Regions from separate parts of the Homo sapiens genome. Here regions 1, 2, 3 and 4 are each linked to region 5. The links are contacts of gene promoters, found by promoter capture Hi-C in blood cells and fetal thymus (Javierre and others, 2016). All regions are on one chromosome and are shown on one strand. The core of a region is centred on a gene start or on the middle of the fragment in contact, and the rest is flanking DNA. Distances in the headings are between cores, read along the strand shown. Region 1 overlaps SKP1 (S-phase kinase associated protein 1). Region 2 overlaps CDKL3 (cyclin dependent kinase like 3). Region 3 overlaps PPP2CA (protein phosphatase 2 catalytic subunit alpha). Region 4 has its middle 34 kb from the start of PPP2CA-DT. Region 5 holds the start of SAR1B (secretion associated Ras related GTPase 1B).

Region 1 (2,700 bases), core at 30-2,529, 480 kb after region 5:
GAACACTTGAATGAAAAAGGAAGACTTGGTCCAGAGCCCCTGGTGAATATGAAAGAAGTATTGGCCTGGACTATCTCCCGCATAATTCACAGCTGCTATCTTGTCTTCAGAAGTGAAACATCCCTTACCAATAGTGACCTAACTTGTGAGGACTGCTTGTGATAGTATAGTTCCCACCCCCAGGACATAAGTTTTCCCTTTCCAGTTAACATGCCTAATCCCATGCTATCTTTAAGAGCTTGAAAATCCTTCCTGACCTGAGCTAGGCTTTTATTCTAAGGGACTGTGTATGTGAACATCCCCACCATCTATGTTTCCTGTTTTCAAACTCGGTGCCGTTTTGAGTATTTTCAGATGCTCACTGCCAGTAATGGTTTGTTAGTAGCTCCAAACTATTAGAGAAGAGCTCAGGAGTCAGAATTTGAAAGATGCCCATAGGGTGATTTGAGATTTGGAACAAGGTTATCACAATAAGTTGGGATTGGGGGAGTTGACACAACCAGGGTCTGCTTGGGTGGGCAGCTGTTTCAGAAACCCTTGGTGAACTCTTAAAGCCCTGAAGAGCTTAAAAAATGCTCTGAAGAGATCTGAGAGTCGCAGTTAAGGACTCTCAAAGAACCTCAAAGAAAAGCCAACTTAGCCTTTTTATACAATTAACTAGATTTGGGTCTTAAATTCTACTTTGACATATAGGCCTAAGAGGTAGTTTAACATGGCCTTGTTACCCTTACCCCTTCTGTTCTGTGCTGTTTTCTGAGAAACGGATGCAGGAACTGATTCCCTTTCTTCCTCTCTGGAACAGGATATAAAGAACCCTTCCGCTTCCCTTTACTTGTGGCCTTCCTGGCCAGGCTTATGTATACTGAACAAAGCTAGGGTGCAGTGCTTCTGAGCTAGCTGTTAGGGGTCCACAGCCAGAAGGAATGGGAGACCACAGGAGCCATTCAAAAGATAATTACATGTCAGAAGAGAGTCCATCCATGGGGTTCTGTTAAAGTAGACACCTTCACGTTGGGAGACATAGGCTTTGTCTGCTTGCTGGGCTGAACCCTCACCATATCCACAGAGAACAAAATGGGGAGCAGCTGTACCAGGGGAGGGATGAACGTCTTTCACCCAAGTTGCCAGTCTGCTAGTTGTCTGGAAATGTTCAAGGGAGGCTAAGGTATCTTGTCTTATGATGTCTCAGGAAACAGGGTTGGTTCTCAGCTGGCAGTGAAGGGGGACTGGTGTGGTATTAGCAGTTGAACTTGAGGTTGCAATCTCAAGTCACCCTCTGGCCTCGCAGGAATGCACCAGGGTGATTTGGGAGGATCTGAGTTTCCTTTATGAAGTCAGATTAAAAAAAAAAAAAGCTGATCTGATTTAAACAGAGTTGCCAAAGACTTCCCCGCCAATACACAAAGACTGCATTGTTCAGGTACCCTGTGTACTCTAAGTGAGACACCAAATCAGATGCAGCAACCTGGTCTTGCATAAGCCCTGGTTAGAATGTAGGTTTTTTAAACAACTAGGCCAGTAGCCAGAACAGAATTCTTTAAAATGGGACAGATGTCCAGAGAATGGCTAGTGTCCTCTAGCACTCTCTCAGAAGCAAAAGCAAGTCTGGGGTTACAACTTCCAGTGGCCTACTTTAAATAGACGCTGTTCTGGAAAATGACTTTATACTTTAAACACAAAATCCAAAAAATAGAACTCAGTGGAGTGACAATGACAATGCATGATGGTGGCCCAGTGGCTGTCCCATGTGAAATACTTCTTGCCTGACATGTATCATCTACTTGTTGACTGACCTATTGAGGTGCCTTCATGACACCTTTTACATTCATGATAGGTCTCAGGAAGACAGCAGTGTACTTGGTGGAAACTCATGTAAAAAGTGGGTTGTAGGGAGCTAAACAGTGAGTACACATGGTATATGGATACGGAATGGAATAATAGACATTGGAGACTTCAAAAGGTGGGAGATGAAAGGGGGATGAGGTATGAAATCCTACCTGTTGAGTACAATGTACACTACTTACGTGCACAGTACACTGTTTGGGTGAGAGGCACACTAAAAGCCCGGACCTCACCGCTACCCAGTATGTTCATGTAACACAGCTGCACTTGTACCCCCTAAATGTATACAAATAATCTAAAAATAGCCCGGACCTCACCGCTACACAATATATTCATGTAACACAGCTGCATTTGTACCCCCTAAATGTATACAAATAATCTAAAAATAAAGTGGATATGGTGGCTGTCGTGTCCACCAACAGCGTATGTAACTTTTTAAAAAGTGGGTAATAGATTTATCAAACTTGAAGGCTTGTGTGAAAATATGAAAAATACTTTGCGTCTTAACAGATGCAGTCTTTGGGTGCAGCGCACCAGCACGGCACATGTATACATATGTAACTAACCTGCGCATTGTGCACATGTACCCTAAAACGTAAAGTATAATAATAATAATTAAAAAAAAAGATGCAGTCTTTGGGAGGAAGGGGTGCTATTAAAAAATCCTCCTTTAGGATTTTGTGGTGCTAATAGGTTATAAAAGACTCGTTTGCTCTTGTTTTCCTTGAAATAGGATATGCACTTGTGGAATGTTTTCTTTTCTCTCTGCCCTCAGAGGAAAATGGAGCCTAGTGGTCATGTGTACCTATTTCAGGTTGAATTGTCTTGTCAGCCTTTATGGACGGCAGTTGGCAACTC
Region 2 (2,700 bases), core at 47-2,546, 310 kb after region 5:
TGAAATTCTCATATAATTTATATTTGTGCACACATGTGAGTATATCTTAGGATAAATTCCTAGGAATAAAATTGTACAATAAAAAATATATACAATTTAAATTTTGGTGGCTTTTGCCAATTTTTCCTCCAAAGAAGTCATATAAGTTTACACTCCCAGAACAGTACTTAGGACTATTCCTTTCCTATAGCCTCACCAATATAGCAATTACCAATTCTTATAAAGTCGGTATATGATCTACAATAAAAACTTACAAATGGGCCAGGCGTGGTGGCTCACACCTGTAATCCCAGCACTTTGGGAGGCTGAGGCGGGCAGATCACGAGGTCAGGAGTTTGAGACCAGCCTGGCCAACATGGTGAAACCCCATCTCTACTAAAAATACAAAAATTAGCCACATGTGGTGGCACACGCCTCTAATCCCAGCTACTTGGGAGGCTGAGGCAGGAGAATTGCTTGAACCCGGAGGTTGCAGTGAGCTGAGATTGCAGCACTTGCACTCCAGCCTGGGTGACAGAGCAAGACTCGGTCTCGAAAAAAAACAAAACAAAACTTAAAATGATACTACTTGTTTCTTTAGCCTTGGCCTTCTTTAAACATATTTTTAAGAATATATTTATAAATTTCTACATGAAAAAGTGATTTTTTTTTCCCTGATCTGTTTCAGACCTGTGGATATCTGGGCTTTGGGCTGTATGATCATTGAGATGGCCACTGGAAATCCCTATCTTCCTAGTAGTTCTGATTTGGATTTACTCCATAAAATTGTTTTGAAAGTGGGTAGGTATTACTGAAATAACATGAGTTACATGTCTAAAATAAATATTGCCAGATCAATTCTGCTTGATTTTCAAATTTAGCTTTTCTGTGTAAGTACAGGGAAGCATATTGTTTTGATAGATGGCAGCAGATGGGTTCCTTGGGCTGATAAAGAAGGCAGAAAATTCTCTGCTTTAGCAAATAATATTTTCTTTGCTAGGATGCAAATAGCTAAGCCATATGTTGATGGTTGATGCTAAGAAAAATAGTACAATAGGAATGTACTTTAATTTGTCTAAAAGTTGTTTTTAAATTAGGCTTCTACAAATATCTGTACCTTTATATAAGGACTTTAAATAGTAGAGTTGAGTCAGATGCTTTTTTAAAGCACTTGGAAATAGAAAAGTAATTATTTACTCAGAAACCACCCTTCTTTTTAAAGAAAACAATAATAGACAGCCAGATAGCTAAATAACTTATTCAAGAACATATTTGATGAAGGCTGGGCATGGTGGCTTACACCTGTAATCCCTGCACTTTGGGAGGCCAAGGCAGGCGGAGCACCTGAGATCAGGAGTTGGAGACCAACCTGACCAACATAGTGAAACCCCATCTCTACTAAAAATACAAAAAAAATTAGCCAGGTATGGTGACGAGTGCCTGTAATCCCAGTTACTCAGGAGGCTGAGGCATGAGAACTGCTTGAACCCAGGAGGCAGAGGTTGCAGTGAGCCACGATCACGCCACTGCACTCCAGCCTGGGCAACAGAATGAGACTTAGTCTCAAAAAAAAAAAAAAAAAAAAAGAATATGTTTGATGAGAGTTTAATTATTTGATGATCTGCTTTGGCCACCAAAACATTATGATGGTTAGCCTTGAATGTGCTATTTCAAGATTTGTGGGTTTTTTAAATTTTAAATTTAATTTTTTTTTTTTTGAGAGGGAGTCTCGCTCTGTCACCCAGGCTGGAGTGCAGGGGCGCGATCTCAGCTCACTGCAAGCTCTGCCTCCTGGGTTCATGCCATTCTCCTGCCTCAGCCTCCCGAGTAGCTGGGACTACAGGTGCCTGCCACCACACCTGGCTTTTTTTTGTATTTTTAGCAGAGACGGGGTTTCACTGTGTTAGCCAGGATGGTCTCGATTTCCTGACCTCGTGATCCACCCACCTGGGCCTCGCAAAGTGCTGGGAATACAGGCATGAACCACCGCGCCCGGCTAAATTTTAATTTTTTTGAGACAGGGTCTCACTTTGTCACCTGGGTTGGAGTGCACTGGTGCAATCATGGCTCACTGTAGCCTTGACTTCCTGGGCTCAGGTGATTCTCCCACCTCAGCCTGCTGAGTGGCTGGGACTACAGGCACGTGCCATCATCCCCGGCTAATTTTTGCGTTTTTAGTGCAGCCGCGGTTTTGCCATGTTGCCCGACTCGGCCTCCCAAAGTGCTGGGATTACAGGCGTGAGCCACCATGGCTGGCCAAGATTTGTTTTTTATTATTTGTGGATGAGGAGCTTGAGAAGCTCTTTGTGTGGTGGGGAAGATATGCATAAATTTGTAATTACAGGATTATGAGGAAGATACTATGAACAATTCTAAAAACAGTGAAATCTGGATAATTACTGATTTAAGAAATAGTTTAGAGCCTTAAGACACCTCACATTTTTGTGTCTTTTAAGAAGTTCTAGTTAAGAGATTAATATTAGAAGGAACCTTAGATGGTGGGGTTTAATCCTATCATTTCACAGATGAGAAAACCAAGCACAAGAAAGCAAGAGATTTACCCAAGGTCACAGAACTAGTTATAGCAAAACTGCTAGAACTTAGTTCCCTCCACTCATATTTATAGTTCTTTCCATTCTGCTACTACTCTCTAGCCTTGTTTCTTTTTTTGCAATATTTTGATTTCTACATACCTTTAATATTTTAGCTGTTTTGAGTAAG
Region 3 (2,700 bases), core at 100-2,599, 440 kb after region 5:
GGATACATGGTGGTGGTTCATGGATGTTGATAAGGAATTAAAATGTACCGTGCGACTCTCTGTTTCAGTGGTGACTTTTACCTGTTTAGTATAAATATTCCTTTGCTTCCAACCATAAATGTGTTCTTAGAAATGGGCCTATAGTTTAGTAACCTATAGTTTGGTAATAGGCTTGTTTGTTTTCAGATGGATTTTGGTTCTGTGAGCTAAAGCTATTTTGCATTAAAGCCTTCGTCCTCACACATTGTTTTGACATATTTCTAGTCTTCATAAACTTTTTTAATTTAGATTTTTTTCCCTTCACAAGTATACATCTGTTTTAGCAAATAGCCTTATGAAGGTTGTAGATGTATTATTTTGGGCATGCCTGGTGATTTCTATATTTTTTCCAATTACATTTAAAGCTTTATGTTTTAGGAATATAAGTACATTTTATTTCTACTTTTTATTATATATATTTAATTGCACAAGTACTACTGTCTAGAAAAAAATGGGATGTTGCTAACACAGCATTGTTGGCTTGTAGGCAGTGCTGTCCTGTAAATAGATTGAAATGTATTTTTATCAGCTGGTATATAAATTTGAGGAAAGAAAAATGTGGACTGTGTTTGAATTGTTTAAAAGTTGAACATACAAAGATCAGTGGTAACCAAGTAAGTGATATAGGCAACAGACCCCAGTTTGTTTTGTATTTGCTGTCATGCCTGGACCAGAATTCCTCATTCCCAAGAGTGAAAGAGGAAATAATTATAGCTAATGAGTGAATGCTGGAAAAAGTCACACTTTTTTGTTTTTTAAGGAAAAGCACAAACCCTCATGTCTGAGGTTGAATTTAATTAAGTGCAGTCGGCCCTCCATAGTCAAGGGTTCCACATCTGAGAATTCAGCCAACCATGGACTGAAAATATTTTTGGGAAAAGGAACCAATAAAAACCAATACAGTGGCCAGGAGCAGTGGCTCATGCCCATAATCCCGGCACTTTAGGAGGCGGAGGCAGGGGTGGGGGGATCACCGGAGGTCAGGAGTTCAAGACCAGCCTGGCCAACATGGTGAAACCCCGTCTCTACTAAAACTATAAGAATTAGCTGGGCATGGTGGCGTGTGCCTGTAATCCCAGCTACTCAGGAGGCTGAGGCAGGAGAATCACTTGAATCTGGGAGGTGGAGGTTGCAGTGAGCCAAGATAGAGCCACTGCACTTCAGCCTGGGCAACAGAGCAAGACTCTGTCTAAAAAAAAAAAACACAGTATAACTATATACATAGCAATTTCATTGTTTAGGTATTATGAGTAATCCATAATTTAAAGTATAGCCAGCCATCAGTATCCACAGAGTTTGCATCAAATGAGTCAATGGAGTCAACCAACCTGGGATTGAAAATGCAGTGTTCTTTTTTTTTTCCCCCTGAGACGGAGTCTCTCTCTGTCACCCGGGTTGGGGTGCAGTGGCACGATCTTGGCTCACTGCAACCTGTGCCTCCCGAGTTCAAGCAAGTCTCCTGCCTCAGCTTCCCAAGTAGCTGGGATTACAGGCGTGGCTCACTACGCCCAGTTAATTTTGTATTTTTAGTAGAGACGGTTTCACCATGTTGGCCAGGGTGGTATGAAACTCCCAACCTCAGGCGATCCACCTGCCTCAGCCTCCCAAAGTGCTGGGATTACAGGCATGAGCCACCGCGCCTGGCCAAAAAATGCAGTATTCTTGAATGCAGAACCCACTGGTAAAGGGGACTGACTTCCAGACTTGACTATCCAAGGGAGGTGTCCTGGATCCAGTCTCCCAAGATTACTGAGGGATGACTAGTTTGTATCCTCAACAGGCTTGTGAGAAGTAGCCAGGATTTTGTCTACTCTGCGTACGATGCTGCTAATGCTGCAAACCACTGCTCTTATTTTACTACTTGGGTCCCTTCGGAATCTATTTTGAGATAGCCTCAGCCATGGTGTACAATCTTCTCAACCATTCAGTGTTGTTAGTGGGAAGGACTTTAATGTGTTCTTCCTGCTGGGCACAGTGGCTCCCGCCTGTAATCCTATCACTTTGGGAGTCCGAGGTGGGTGGATCACTTGAGCCTGGAGTTGAAGATGAGCCTGGCCAACATGGTGAAATCCTGTCTCCACTAAAAAAACAACTAGCTGGGTGTGATGGCACTTACCTGTAGTACCAGCTAGTTGGGAGGGTGAGACTAAATCGCTTGAAACCGGGAAGCAGAGGTTGCAGTGAGCTGAGATCGCGCCATTGCACTCCAGACTGCGAGACTCTTGTCTCGAAAAAATATATTTTTAAAAGCTTTCTTCCAAGAAATAATTTAGCTGTTCTTCCTTAGTGCAGTGGTAGGCTGTAGCCACCAGCAAGCAAGATTACTGATGGTGGAAGTCAAAGGCCAGAATCGTGATAGGAAGTTAAGAGTGCTTGCTCCATAGAACACTATGGAAGACCACAATGGAATGTCTAATTAAAGCTATTAGAAATGCCCAAAGCTGTTGAGTGCCTCTACCTCAAGGCTTAGCATACCTTCTGATCTGCAAGGAGACTAATCATTAGGCTTTTTGCAGTTCTAGAACTGCTCTGAGTATGGCATTGGAACCTGGGGATAGGAGCAAGAGCTAGTAATTGGGTTTGGCAGGCCTGGTCAAAGGGGAGCTTTAAGGTCAGGTATATCCAAACATATCAGAAAGTAGGTTACATGGTGTGGTGAAA
Region 4 (2,700 bases), core at 164-2,663, 370 kb after region 5:
CTAAAAATCCACAAAGAAAAAAGACAACATACCGCAAAGAAAAGTGAGCAAAAGATAGATATGTCACAAAAGCAAGAAAGTGAATGGCCAAAAATATGAAAAAAAAAAAAAGCCTCAGCTTTATTAGTAAGCAGGGAAATGGAAATTAAAACCACAGATTCTAGTTTTCATTCTCACCCAGTTGGCAAAAGCTTATTGTCAACACCAAGTGTTGGTGAGGACATGGGGCAATGGAAATGTTCACACTCTGCTGGTGGGAGTGTAAATTGGGAAGACTACCTGGCATTATCTAGTAAATTGTAGATGGGCACATCCTGTGACCAACCATTCCTCTCCTTGGTTTTTATTCTGGAGAAAGTCTTGCACATGGACTTCAGGTGACATGTAAGGATGCTCCCAGCAGTGTTGTTTGTTACAGCAAAATCTGGAAACAGTCCAAAATCCATCAATAACAGACTGGATAAATAAACTGTCATGTATTATTAATATATATACACACAGACACAAACATGAATGAATTATATACACCAACATGAATAAATCACAAACAGTTTTCATAAGAAGAGCAAGTCACATTATGGTTCCACATATTTACGTTAAATACATACAAAACTAAATATATTTTAAAATACACAATATATGATTTGATTATAAAAAAAGCCAAGGAATAATAAATACAAAATTCAGCATAGCAGCCCTGTCTGTTGGGAATGTGATCAGAGAGAGCATACCTGGAACCTCAGTGTTACTGGTAATGTCATGTTTCTTGAGTCAAGAGTGCAAGGGAAGGCTGGGCACAATGGCTCATGCCTGTAATCCCAGCACTTTGTGAGCCTGAGGAAAGTGCATCATTTGAGGTCAGGAGTTCCAGACCATCCTGCCCAACATGGCTAATCCCTGTCTCTACTAAAAATACAAAAATTAGGCGTGGTGGCACGCACCCGTAGTCCCACTACTCAGGAGGCTGAGGCACGAGAGTCGCTTGAACCCGGGAGGCAGAGGTTGCAGTGAGCTGAGATTGTTCCATTGCACTCCAGCCTGGGCGACACAGCGAGACTCCATCTCAAAAAAAAAAAAAGTGCAAGGGAACTTGTTTTATTATTAGTCTTTAAATATGTTAATTGTATTTTTGTCGATATTATTTTTCACAATAGTATCTTAACAAAAACAAATCTTACAAGCTACAGGGGTTGTGGGGCAGGCAGTGGGAAGAGATGGGCTTAGTTAGTAGTCAATACAAGAAGTGCAAGAATCTTCTAACTCATTCCTCTAGGTGATTAGTAACCTTCTGTTTCACTTTTTAATTTAAAATTTTAGTTATGTATTTTTCTTATGAAATATTTCATAAATACAGAAAGGTATAGAATATCATAATCACCTATGTGTCCATAACCCAATTTAAGGTGTAAGGCTTGGCCAAGTGCAGTGGCTTACGCCTGAAATCCCAGCACTTTGGGAAACCTGAGATGGGAGGATCACTTGAGGTGAGGAGTTCGAGACCAGCCTGGGCAACATGGTGAAACCCGGTCACTACTAAAAATACAAAAATTAGCCAGTTTTGGTGGGCACTGTGTGACCCAGCTACTTCAGGGACTGAGGATGCTTGATCCCAGGAGTTGGAGGTTACAGTAAGCTACGATCACAGCCTGCACTCCAGCCTGAGCCATAAGATGGAGACTCTGCCCCAAAACAACAACAAAAAGGTCTAAGACTTTACAAAAATAGTGGAAGCCCTTTGTGTAACCCTCCCTCATTGTATTCCCTTTCCTGCATCCCCAGTAACCACATTTCTGAAATTTGTACCACTCCTTTCTATGCTGGTCTTCCTACTTTTACTGACATATGCATGTACCCTTAAAGGTTCGTATTGCACTGTTAGGCATGTTTGGCATTTTATATACATGGAATTATGGCATCATTTGGTCCTATCCTTCTGCAACTCTTTTTCCCAATGTTATTTTTAAATTTTTATTTAGAGACAGGGTCTCACTTTGTCACCCAGGCTGGAGTGCAGTGGCATGCTTACAGCTCATTGCGGCCTGTAACTCCTAGGCACAAACGATCCTCCTCCAGAGCAGCTAGGACTACAGGCACGTGCTACTATGTCCAGATAATGGTTGGATAATTTTTCTTTTCTTTACTTTCTTTTTTTTTCTTTTCTTTTCTTTCTTTTTTTTTTTTTTTTTTTGTAGAGACAGGGTCTTGTTGTGTTGCCTAGCCTGGTCTCAAACTCCTGGGCTCAAGCCATCCTCTTGCCTGGGCTTCCCAAAGAGCTGGAATTATAGGTGTGAGCCACCATGCCTGGCCCCCAATATTTTTCTTAATGTTTGTCCATGTTGATGTGGCAGGATTCTTTGTATCCAGTTTTAATTTATGTTTCCAATCCCCCAACATTTTACAAACTTTTTGTTATGGGAAATTTCAAACATATACACGAGTAAACAGAATCTCATAATAAGATTTTCATAATTCCTCCTGTTACTCATCACCCAGCTTTAACAGTTATCAACACGTGGTCAGTTTTGTTTCATCTATTACCCAATTCATTTCCCACCCTCTTGTATTATTTTGAAGTAAATTCCAGACATCACATAATTCTTTCCTAAATATTTCAATATGTGTTTCTAAAAGCTTAGGGTTCTTTTTATAAAGATATAATCACTTATCACACCACAAATAATTAACAGTTTCTTTTTTTGA
Region 5 (2,700 bases), core at 73-2,572:
TTAATTAATTTATTTATTTTTTGAGACGGAGACAGAGTCTCGCTCTGTCGCCCAGGCTAGAGTGCAATGGTGCAATCTCGGCTCACTGCAACCTCCACCTCCCGGGTTCAAGCAATTCTCCTGCCTCGGCCTACCGAGTAGCTGGCGTTACAGGCACCTGCCATCATGCCTGGGTAATTTTCGTATTTTTGTAGAGATGGGGTTTCACCATGTTGGCCAGGCTGGTCTTGAACTCTAACCTCAGGTGATTCACCCACCTTGACCTCCCAAAGTGCTGAGATTACAGGTGTGAACCACCGCGCCTGGCCAAGACCGTCTATAAAACAACTGAATAACCAGCTGAATAAAAGCTGAATAACCAGCATCCAACACATTATCTGGTACGTAGCTACATTGTGTAAATCACTGGTGAATTCAATAAGCACAAATAACAAAAAAAGAAAAAAAAATGAATTCAATAAGCACGTGTACTTTGAAAATGTATTTTAGGCAGGGCGCGGTGGTGATCCCAGCACTTTGGGAGGCTGAGGCAGGTGGATCACTTATGCTAGGGAGTTTGAGACCAGCCTGGCCAACATGATGAAACCCGGTCTCTACTAAAAATACAAAAATTAGCCGGGCGCAGTGGCTCACGCCTGTAATCCTAGCACTTTGGGAGGCCGAGGCGGGCGGTTCACTTTAGGTCAAGAGTTCGAGACCAGCCTGGCCAACATGGTGAAACCCCGTCTCTACTAAAAATACAAAAATTAGCCGGGCATGGTGGTGCGCGCCTGTGCTCCCAGCTACTCAGGAGGCTGAGGTAGAAGAATCGCTTGAACCCGGGAGGCGGAGGTTACAGTGAGCTGAGATCGCGCCATTGCACTCCAGCCTGGGCGACAAAATCGAGGCTCCGTTTCAAAAAAAAAAAAAATTAGCCGGACAGTGGTGGCGGGTGCCTGTAGTCCCCGCTACTGGGGAGGCTGAGGTAGGAGAATCTCTTGAATCCAGGGGGTGGAGGCTGCAGTGAGCCGAGATCGTGCCACTGCACCCCAGCCTGGGAGACAGAGCGAGACAACGTCTCAAAAAAAAAAAATGCCAAAAGTAATTTCCCCTAGGGAGGCATGGGGTGTTCCTTTCTCGGCACGCAGGCCCCTAAAATCCCTTCGGGCGGGCGGGTGTGGGGAGACCAGGCGGCTGGGAGACCCAGGCGGTGTTAGGGGTTGCGAGCAGCCTCGCTCAACTGGGGAATTGGCGGCAAGACTGCCAGGAGGCGGAACCTAGGGCGCTCGGCGACGCGGTCCTGCGGACTGTCGCTAGTGAGGCACCCGCCGGCCCGGAAGGGGCTGATGCGAACTGGGGCCACGGCAGCCATCGCGCTTTGCAGTTCGGTCTCCTGGTGTACGGCCAACGCCAAGTAGGGGATTGCGTTCCCTCCAGTCGCAGGTGAGTGACAGCCCCTCCTTCTGGGAGGACCGGTGGGCAGCAGCTATGGATCCCCTAGAAGGCGCACTTTTAGGGCCAAGACCTACTCTGAGTCCCTGCCTGTGGCACTGCGTGAAGGGGCGCCTGTTTTTCACCCCGGGGTTAGGCGGCGCGAGGGAGGACAGGTCTCATCCATGCTCCGCGGGGCCGTCTGATAGCCCTCGAGGCAGAACACTGCTGCTGTCAGACGCTTGGTCTTTTCAGGAAAGAACGAGGTGGCTGCAGGCAAGCCCCTTCCTTCCCCTGGGCCTCAGTTTCCTTACCTGGTAAGGTGAAGGTGGCGGGTCTCACTGACAGCTGAAGAGGCTGTGACACGGCCTGGTGTTTTCAGCGCTCCCAATTAGTGTAGAGGCAAATTGAGCTTCCTTACTAGTACTGGTTAACGTTTTCCGTAGCCCAAAGTCCCAGTTAAGTGGAAAAAAGATACACTGTTGAGAAAACTGTACTGATTTTTGTTTTAATTTTTTAAATTTTTGTTGTTGTTTTGAGACAGAGTTTCCCTCTTGTCGCCCAGGCTGGAGTGAAGTGGCACGATCTCGGCTTACTGCAAGCTCCGCCTCCCGGGTTCACGCCATTCTCCTGCCTCAGCCTCCCGAGTAGCTGGGACTACAGGTGCCCGCCACCACGCACCGCTAATTTTTTTGTATTTTTTAGTAGAGATGGGGTTTCACCGTGTTAGCCAGGATGGTCTCTTATCTCCTGACCTCGTGATCCGCCTGCCTCGGCCTCCCAAAGTGCTGGGATTATAGGCGTGAGCCACCGCATCCGGTCTAACTTTTCTATTTTTAGTAGAGATGGGATTTCTCTATGTTGGCCAGTCTGGTCTCCAACTCCTGACCTCAGGTGATCTGCTCGCCTCGGCCTCCCAAAGTGCTGGGATTAAAGGCATGAGCCACCTCAGTGGGCCACTGTACTGATTTTTAAGGTGTTGAAGCTTTTCCAAGAAGATTTGTTTTAAAACAGCTAAAACTTTGACATTGTTAGCTGAAAGAACCAAATTCGTCAGCAATTTAAGGTGTTTGGTACAGTGGACAAAATGAGGTGAAGAAGTCCTTTTAACTTGAAAAATTAAACATAGTATTATTTATTTGTGTGTTCTTACATCAGCCTCTATATTACTAAGTGTCTTTGAAGACGTCCTATATTCCGTGTTAAAGTATCAGTGAAGAGTAGGTCACATTGAAACAATGAAAGAAGGAAAGAAAAGGAACATTTATTGACTACTATGAGTAAGGCACT

The links. Contacts are between HindIII fragments. The CHiCAGO score rates a contact against its expected background, and 5 or more counts as called.
Region 1: a fragment that was not itself captured here is called in contact with the fragment with the promoter of SAR1B in region 5 in 1 of 17 cell types (activated CD4 T cells); the score reaches 7.8 in activated CD4 T cells.
Region 2: a fragment that was not itself captured here is called in contact with the fragment with the promoter of SAR1B in region 5 in 1 of 17 cell types (M2 macrophages); the score reaches 5.6 in M2 macrophages.
Region 3: a fragment that was not itself captured here is called in contact with the fragment with the promoter of SAR1B in region 5 in 2 of 17 cell types (activated CD4 T cells and total CD4 T cells); the score reaches 6.7 in activated CD4 T cells.
Region 4: a contact is called between a fragment that was not itself captured here and the fragment with the promoter of SAR1B in region 5, in 1 of 17 cell types (activated CD4 T cells). The highest score is 5.7, in activated CD4 T cells.

The regions. Positions count from the first base shown.
Region 1 is chr5:134,148,503-134,151,202 of GRCh38, reverse strand. SKP1 (S-phase kinase associated protein 1) reads left to right here. Exons shown (of 6, transcript NM_170679.3): 6 at 1-2,268. Among named protein-coding and RNA genes, the nearest start is that of SKP1, 27 kb to the left of the region's middle. The HindIII fragment of the contact is 2,975 bases long and covers 1-2,700 here.
Region 2 is chr5:134,319,871-134,322,570 of GRCh38, reverse strand. It overlaps CDKL3 (cyclin dependent kinase like 3), which reads left to right. Exons shown (of 13, transcript NM_001113575.2): 5 at 668-780. Among named protein-coding and RNA genes, the nearest start is that of CDKL3, 46 kb to the left of the region's middle. The HindIII fragment of the contact is 3,778 bases long and covers 1-2,700 here.
Region 3 is chr5:134,191,874-134,194,573 of GRCh38, reverse strand. PPP2CA (protein phosphatase 2 catalytic subunit alpha) reads left to right here. Exons shown (of 7, transcript NM_002715.4): 7 at 1-242. Among named protein-coding and RNA genes, the nearest start is that of SKP1, 16 kb to the right of the region's middle. The HindIII fragment of the contact is 1,885 bases long and covers 407-2,291 here.
Region 4 is chr5:134,258,923-134,261,622 of GRCh38, reverse strand. No RefSeq gene overlaps it. Among named protein-coding and RNA genes, the nearest start is that of PPP2CA-DT, 34 kb to the right of the region's middle. The HindIII fragment of the contact is 2,440 bases long and covers 194-2,633 here.
Region 5 is chr5:134,631,450-134,634,149 of GRCh38, reverse strand. SAR1B (secretion associated Ras related GTPase 1B) reads left to right here and starts at 1,322. Exons shown (of 7, transcript NM_016103.4): 1 at 1,322-1,422. RefSeq lists an enhancer at 871-1,427 and silencers at 1,401-1,450, 1,501-1,610. The HindIII fragment of the contact is 3,405 bases long and covers 1-2,397 here.